Linked DNA regions of Homo sapiens: region 1 is linked to region 2. The links are contacts of gene promoters, found by promoter capture Hi-C in blood cells and fetal thymus (Javierre and others, 2016). All regions are on one chromosome and are shown on one strand. Each heading gives the region's core, a stretch centred on a gene start or on the middle of the fragment in contact. The rest is flanking DNA. Distances are from core to core; before and after follow the strand shown. Region 1 overlaps MED12L (mediator complex subunit 12L). Region 2 holds the start of SERP1 (stress associated endoplasmic reticulum protein 1).

Evidence for each region. The method cuts DNA at HindIII sites, captures the fragments that hold promoters and counts their contacts. A CHiCAGO score of 5 or more calls a contact.
Region 1: a contact is called between a fragment that was not itself captured here and the fragment with the promoter of SERP1 in region 2, in 2 of 17 cell types (fetal thymus and erythroblasts). The highest score is 6.7, in fetal thymus.

What each region holds. Positions count from the first base shown.
Region 1 is chr3:151,086,139-151,089,869 of GRCh38, forward strand. It overlaps MED12L (mediator complex subunit 12L), which reads left to right. Exons shown (of 45, transcript NM_001393769.1): 2 at 660-887. The coding sequence starts at 789. Among named protein-coding and RNA genes, the nearest start is that of MED12L, 2.3 kb to the left of the region's middle. RefSeq lists a silencer at 1-278. The HindIII fragment of the contact is 1,295 bases long and covers 1,334-2,628 here.
Region 2 is chr3:150,544,417-150,548,344 of GRCh38, forward strand. SERP1 (stress associated endoplasmic reticulum protein 1) reads right to left here and starts at 2,080. Exons shown (of 3, transcript NM_014445.4): 1 at 1,636-2,080; 2 at 1,287-1,362; 3 at 1-82. The coding sequence starts at 1,719. The coding sequence ends at 42. EIF2A (eukaryotic translation initiation factor 2A) reads left to right here and starts at 2,371. Exons shown (of 14, transcript NM_032025.5): 1 at 2,371-2,414. The coding sequence starts at 2,387. RefSeq lists enhancers at 1,591-2,221, 1,667-2,866, 2,139-2,678. The HindIII fragment of the contact is 4,802 bases long and covers 847-3,928 here.

The sequences.
Region 1 (3,731 bases), core at 731-3,230, 540 kb after region 2:
GCCGCCGCGACCGCCAGCAGCGCGCCTCGGCGCCTGCCCGGAGCCGCCGAGGGGACCGTAGCTGCGGATGCGCCACTGGAACCTGGCGGGCGTCTAGGAGGCACCGGCCGCTTCCCACCGGCCGCATCCCTGCGTCTCGCGCCCCCTCCAGACCTGCCTCTGCCTGCACTGGCCCGGTCCGTGTCCAGGTGGCGGGGTCTGCGGGGCGCGTGGCGGCGGGGGAAGGGTCCCTGCCGGGGAAGAGAGGCGGGGGCGGTCCGCTCCACAGCTTCTTCCCGGGAGGGGAGGGCCACCCTCGCCTTGGGCGAGCACTTCAGCCACCAGCCTAGGCGCCAAGAAAAGTTTTTTTTTTTTTTTTTCCAGTGCCCCACCCCCACCCCCATCCTGCGCCCAGCTGGGGTGGGTTTGGGTCCATTGGTGAAAAAAGTCACACGTTCCCATCAGCTGCTCCTCCCCCTGGAGACAAGGTAGGGGGGAGCAGAGGAGGCAGGCGCCGCGGAGGACCCTGGCCGACCTCTAGTCCCTCCGCCGCCGCCACCGGAGCGGTGCGTCCCGGGGCTCGAGCGCAGCCGAGTACCCGCCGAAGGCTGTCCCCATCAGTGCGTGTCTGCTGCCGGGCAGCGGCAGCATCCAACCTGCTTTATTCCTCCTGCCTGCAGCGCCACAGCGAGCGAGCGAGCGAGGAGGGGGAGAGAGGGAGTCTGTCTGCAAAGTGCTGCTCCCTGGTGCTCAGAGGCGGCTGCTCCAGCTCCAACTCTCATTCATTTCGCCGGTTAACATGAGAGATCATGGCCGCCTTCGGGCTTCTCAGCTATGAGCAGAGACCGCTGAAGCGCCCCCGGCTCGGGCCGCCCGACGTCTACCCACAGGACCCCAAGCAGAAGGAGGTAAGGGCGCCGGCGGCCTCCCCGGCAACCGGGGCCGCGCTCTGCAGCACTGACCCGGGGCCAAGTTGGCCCAGCGGGCATCGCCGGCGCTGCGGTGGAAGAGGTCGGGGAGGGGGATTAGAGGCGGGGGCCAGGCTGGGGGTGCTGGGCGACCCCCCGGCGGCGGAGACCGAGCGGCTGTCAGTCCCCGCGCTCCACTGGGGCGCTCGCTTTCCATGTGCCGGTCGCTTTCCCGTTGCCGGGCCTTGCACGGCGCCGCCGGGCGCTTCTCGGGCTTCTTCCCTGCCGAAACCTTGCTCGCTCTCACCCGTTTCTGCCTGCTTTATTTTTCTTCTTGCCGCTTCGGTAAATCGTCGTAAACTTTTTGAAAAATGTTGGAATGCAGTGCATCCTACACTGAGGTCTTGCGTTTTGCTTTTGCTGGCCAGGGACGAAGGTGAGGGGGAAGCTTTTCAAATTTTCCAGTTTGGAATGGAAGTCGTTTTTATCGAAGTGATAAATATTTAGCTCTCTGAATATACCTCTGTAACCCTTCTGCCCTTTAAAAATTAAAATTAAGGAGAAACACTGATTTTCGTCTCTAGAGGCAATGGGCTTAATTGCTAGAGGCTGTTTTGTATACGTAAAAGCAGGCGAGTTACCTTGGGAGGGAATAGTTCCCAGGATTGCTTATTTCTTTGAATGAGATTAATTGGAGACACCTTGACTCTTGCACCAGCTACATTAGCTTCAATGGCTAGGGTAACCATGGCATTTTGTAGCTGTGTATCTGTTTGTCAGGAGTTAACAAGTAATTATGTAACAAGTCTCTAGTTATAATGATCACCTTTGGCTACACCATTTGCCCAGGGACTTGCCTTTTTTTTGTTTTTTTTTTGATCACCTGCTACCCAGCAGTGCTTTCTGAGTTTGCCAGCTGCAGTCCACCCATCTTCTGTTCAGCTAAACACGAACTGACCATATTTCAAAACTTACCTTTCTGAGAATCTAAAAACCCTCCATTAAAAGTTTGTGGGCCCACTGATAGCACAGAAAGGGCCTTGTAAACCAGGCAAGGAGGGGTCCTTAAGACTTTCCTTTTGATAAGTGTATCTTTCATTAGGAGAGTAAGTGCTTGTTCTGGCTAAACTGTCTTGCTTATAAAGTGTCTGAGAAGTAAGGAACAGCAACTCCTTTTAGAGGTTTAGCACACTAAATATGCTCTAGCATCAGTGGAGTCACGCAGATGAAAGCTGGGAAGGTTTTACAGGTGGTTTCCAGCACCAGCTTTACAGGATGGTAGAGGTTTGAGAAGATTTCCCAGATTTTTTTTCCTACCCGTTACCCCACCCTGCTACCCCAACTTAGAATGAAGTTAATGGTTAAGGACTGGAAATAATAGAGAAGCTGAGGATCAAGTGTACAGTTAATAGCTTAAAAATTATTGGGAGGAAATTCTTAAAGTTTTGATAGGGACAGGGATATTTTGTTGGTTGAACTTTATCATCTTGTAATTAATGTCTTACTCTGTCTTTCCAGAGGGCAGCATAATTGATGGCATGATGGCTTGGGGTGCTGTGTGGGCTTATTTAGCATTTGTTCTTCAGGCCAATGCTCATTTCACGACTGGGGCCTCTGATTCTGGAAAGAGTAATTTTGGATTTCAGGGTCTCACAACATTTTATGGAGTTCTAAAACTGGAAGCGACCTTAGGGACTACTTTCTATAACTTCCTTTTGACTAAGTGAAACAGGCCTGGGAAAGCTTGACTCGTTTAACCAAGGTGTATAGGTGAATAAGCAGAGGAGTTGTACCACCAAACCAGTATTTATGTCAAAACTAATACTGCTTTGAGGATGATTTATGCTAAATTATCTTCTGATGTTATCCCCTTTCCCCCAAGGCAGCCAATGTTTTAACTCTCCCAAGCAGACAGAGTTATGTGTGGCTGTAGCCAAATTTGGGTACAATATGGAACAGGTGCTTGGCTGTTCTTGGGTGGTTGGTGAGTAGAGTTTCCTAAGCTTTAGTTATTTATGTCCTACCTCCCTCAAGATTTCTACCCTACCCCTGTACCACCTGTACTTTTATTCTGAAGTTTTCTTTAAACTAATTTTTTAAGAAACTTTGTGTTTCCTGGGCAGTACTACACGTGGAGTCATGGATTTATTGAAATATATGTATATATAAAATTTATATCAAATCATGTTTACATACTATTTTTAATCTATTTGATATTACATGCACACACGTATATGATTATACATAATAAAATGAGACCATTACTATTAACACTTTAAAAGTTCATCTGTGTATCGAAAACAACAGTTGTGTTCCATTAGAGATAGCTGTGGTGGAAAATGCTGATTTAATGGAGGAAGTGTGGGCTTCCAAGTTGGGCCAACCTGGATTTAGCTTTTTTTTTTTTTTTGCAATTGTGTGGCCTTGGGCAAGTTGCATAGCCTCTCATTTGTAAATTAGTTTGTGCACTTCAGAAAAAATTTCAAACCAACATTTGTGTGAGAAAAGCCCTCCTCCTGGTAGAAGTTATTCTTGTCACCATAAATGTAATTTTTATTGTTGTTGTTAACCAGTGGTAATATATTTCAGAAAAGGGCTCCCAGAAGGTAGGGTGGAACCCATGAACGAAGACCCATGTGGAGAAGTATGGGGGTGGGGCGGGGGGGAGAATATGGAAGCTTTAACCTGCCTGATGGATTGGTTATATTTTTTTGAGAGCTTGCTGTGCATCAGCATCCTGTAGGACTTCATTATATATTGTGTTATAATACTTTGCTTCCTACAAACAGACTGTGCTCAAGCCTTTAAAGCAGGGAATCAGAAAACTGGCAGTCATCCTTGAGA
Region 2 (3,928 bases), core at 830-3,329:
AAAATTCACAGGAGAATGGAAACATCTTAAGGTCAGTCACTTCACATGCCCATCCTGATACTTTGAATAATCTGGAAAATTGCTGTAAAAAGAAAGAGCAAATATTAAAATAAGCTTTGAATAAAATAGGTCTGGTGTCTAACAAATATTTATTAAGGTAGCTGAAGAATCCAAAGGTACTCTTACATTTGCAAATGGTACATAACTTCAGTATAATAAGAAGTGAAGACAGGCCTGTCTGAATAAATAAAACAATGAAATATCCCTGAGTTATTTTTTTATCTTAGCTTCGCTGAACTTTATGTCTAAGTATCCAAGAGAACTTGCAGATAAGTAATCATTTTACAAAGAACTTAAAGCACCAAAGCCAACAGGTTTTTCCAGCATAGAATTATTTTGGTTTATAAGCATCCTTTTAAGGCCTGGCCTGTAACACATGCATGTTTCCTCATTCTCACAAAGCTGAAATTCAATCATCTTCAGGTTATATAAACTGCTTGGCTCTCATCCATTTATCAGGAAAGCTTCCAATTGGTAAGTGAAGAAGAAAGGCAAAGTGAAACGTTAAACAGAAATCTCAGTAATTTTAGAATGTGGAAAACAAACATCTACTTCAATATTAACAGCTTGCATATTAAAATGATAAATGAAGAGAGGAAAGACCTTTTTTTTGTAATCTATTTGCAAAGGCAAGTGTCTGTTACTCTTAGGGGACAGCAGGCTACCCCGACACTTTTTTTTTAAACCATGTATCAAACGTTTCTTTTATTAACCTAAAAACATTTGACTCACACATTAAAATGCCAATCAGGTAATTTCCTCTATAGTGAATCAATTCTTTGCACAAGCTTTATTTTATAAAATATACTCAATTTTGACATTAAGACATTAGATTCTGGTATATGTTAAATCAAGTTCTAACATCTATAGTACATATTTATAATTTTCTTTGCAAAGACTGATAATGGAGTTACAAAACATTCTAAATTCTCATTTCGTTAGGTTTTGTCCGGTCTTAACATTTATTCCAACTGGATCATTACCAAGACCTGACCTCCTTTTTGATCTCCTGTGAGTACAAATTAAGCTGGGAGAAGTTTCTGGAGCACCACCCTCTGTGCATATGTGGAACAAGTAATTTGGTTCAGACGAAACAGAATTATGTGGAGTCCTCGGCAGGTGGGTTGAGAACTACGCAGGTAGGACTCACTACTGACCGGTCACCACGTCATCCCAAATCCTTTCAACCCAAGACTCTACCTGATGGGAGCCCCCAAGCCACTTACCAGAACCACAGACAACAAAAATGAAGAGAGCCAATAACCAGGGTCCTACAGACGCCTTCTCTTCGGGGGCATTTCTCTGCAAAAGCGAAAATCCACCATTTCAGATGCAGAGAAACCACTCGGACCCCAGGCTCCCACGCCTGCACGCCGGTCGCCGGCCCCCTCACCTCACAGGTCTCCCCTTCCGTTCCCGAGCCCCCACAGTCTGGCGGTTCGCAGACTCGGGCCCCTACCCCTCCACGGCACCAGCCCACGGTCGGCCGGATCCGGGAGAAAACGCGACGCGGCCCCAGGGACCCGGACTCAGCTCCGGCTGCGGAACGCAGAGGGGCGCCCGCTCTTTCCTTACCGAGGTCTTGGCGACGTTGCCGCGCTGGGTGATGTTCTTGCTGTGCTTCTCGTTGGCCATACGGATCCTTTGCTTGGCGACCATCTTCGCGGCGCCACCACCTGCCCCGGCCACCCCTCGGACTCGCTCACTCGCCTGCCTCCTCTGGAGCCGCTGCGAGGCTCGGCTCGTGGTGCCCGCGCCGCCGGAGCGCCGAGGTTCTCAGGCCAGACGCTAGCTACGGCCGCTGGGCCTGGGCGCCGCAAGCGCGAGGTCTGAGCACAAGCCGGGCGCCGGCCGCCGACTGACTGACCGAGCGGGGCAGGTGCGCAGGAGGAAGAGAACTGGCCGCCGGGTCGTTCTCGCGCCGCCGTCGCCGCCGCTTTGGCCGCCGCCGTGAGCGCGGAGTGAAAGAGGAAGGAAACGCAACGCAACAACGGGAATGTGCAGCCCGCCGCCTCGATCTACTTTGGGTTCGGCTGCCAACGTCAGCACTAGACGGACTCCGCCCCGCGGAAGTGCGCGCCCCTCCCGCTGGAGAAGGAGGGCGAAAGCAGGCGCACCCTCCCAAGCTCTGTCAAGCGTCGCCCTAGATTTGCGCGTGCGCGTTTGGGCGCCTTTTCCGCGTCACTCCGTAACCGGAAGTGAATTGGCCCCGAGGCTGATGGCTCCGGAAACACCAATTCGCTGTCTCCACGCATGAGGAGACGTGTAGGGGCCGGGTTCGGCCCTGGTGAACTCTCACCCGAGCGGTTTCTCTTTCCGGGACAACATGGCGCCGTCCACGCCGCTCTTGACAGGTGAGTTCTGAAGAAGCGAGGGACTCTCTTTCTTCAGACTAGTTTCTTATTTTTGTCTTTGCCTTTGAGAACTACCCGAGGAGCCGGGGAGTCTGATCTGCCTTTTCTTGTGGCTTGCGGAAAGGCCAGACTGTTGGCTTTCTTGATATAGCGTGGCAATCGGAAGTGAAGTCTCCGCCTCTGGGCTTTCGTATTCCCCCTCCCTTTCACCCATCCATCATTCTTGCCTGCGGATTCATCTTCTACAGAAATAGAAGAAGGGGGAGAAAAACAATGTGCTAGTTGAATTTGTGACACATGGGTCTGCAATACTGGTGTTACACGGGCCCTTGTGAAGTCATTTAGGTCTACAATAAGAACAAAGACAAACATGAGTTAGTCCTCTAGAATGATCACGCACTTTAAATACACCTGGACTTAAGTAATTCCAGATTCTGGCCTTCCTGCCTTAATGAGGTTTGTAGGACTGAATAGGGAGAGTGGAGCTGTAATGCAGGTTTCAAATGATGAAGGTGTGGTTGGGAGAGGGTGTAGCAGTGAGCATGATAGAGATATTCTAGCAACATTTGATTTTGAAATGGTTATGAGCATATTAGAAATAGAACATTAGAGGACTCTTGAAATTTTGAAGCTAAAGACTGTAGTGTTGGAGGAGATAATAAACTTAGATTGGAAAATGCTGGGGAAGTTGCTTTACTAGGGTGTGGCTAAGAGTCTGCATATGAGTATTACGTAAGGAAAAGAGAGTCGGGAAGGAAAAGAAGGTTTTGGTTAAGTTCTGATAACTATATAGAAGGAAAAAGTCATTAAGAGAAAGGTTGTCTGCATTTAAGGAGGGAGGCTATTCCCTCCCTTCCCCCCCGCGAAAGGAACCTTAAAACATTTTTGCACTTTTTGCCAGTCTACATTTCTATTTTTACATTTTAAAATCTTTGTTATTAAGCGCCATGCCCACTGATGCTCAGTCTGTCTTCTGCAGTTTAGTCATCATTTATCAAACGCCGAGTATAATCTTCTAGATAATATACCAGGCAAAGACTGTTTAAAAGGCAAAGTTACATAATAAATTTTTTTTTAGGTTTGTAAAGGTAGCTTGTTATTCACAATTTTTAATACTAAATGCTTATTTGAACTCTAATGAAAAAATTACATTCTAAAATCTGATAAATAACCCCTCCTTTAAAAATGCCTACAGTAGGTAGTTCCTCTCTGCTTACAGGGTAGATTCCATCCTATGTAGCATAGTTATGTAACCATTTATAATCTTTGAATTGCTCTTGAGACTCATTTATTTCCTTGCCATCCCATCTTATTTGGTGCTCCATCAATACTGAACTGCTTCTGAGTCCCTTTGAACAACCTGTTTCTTCAGTCTAGTACTATCCTATGCCTCTTGTTGATTTGGCAAACTCTTTTTCATCTGTTGAAATTAAAATTCATTTTAGATATCATTGCTCTGTGAAGCCTTTCGTCACTCTACCCAGATAGAGTCAGTCACTTCCTGGGCTATTTTT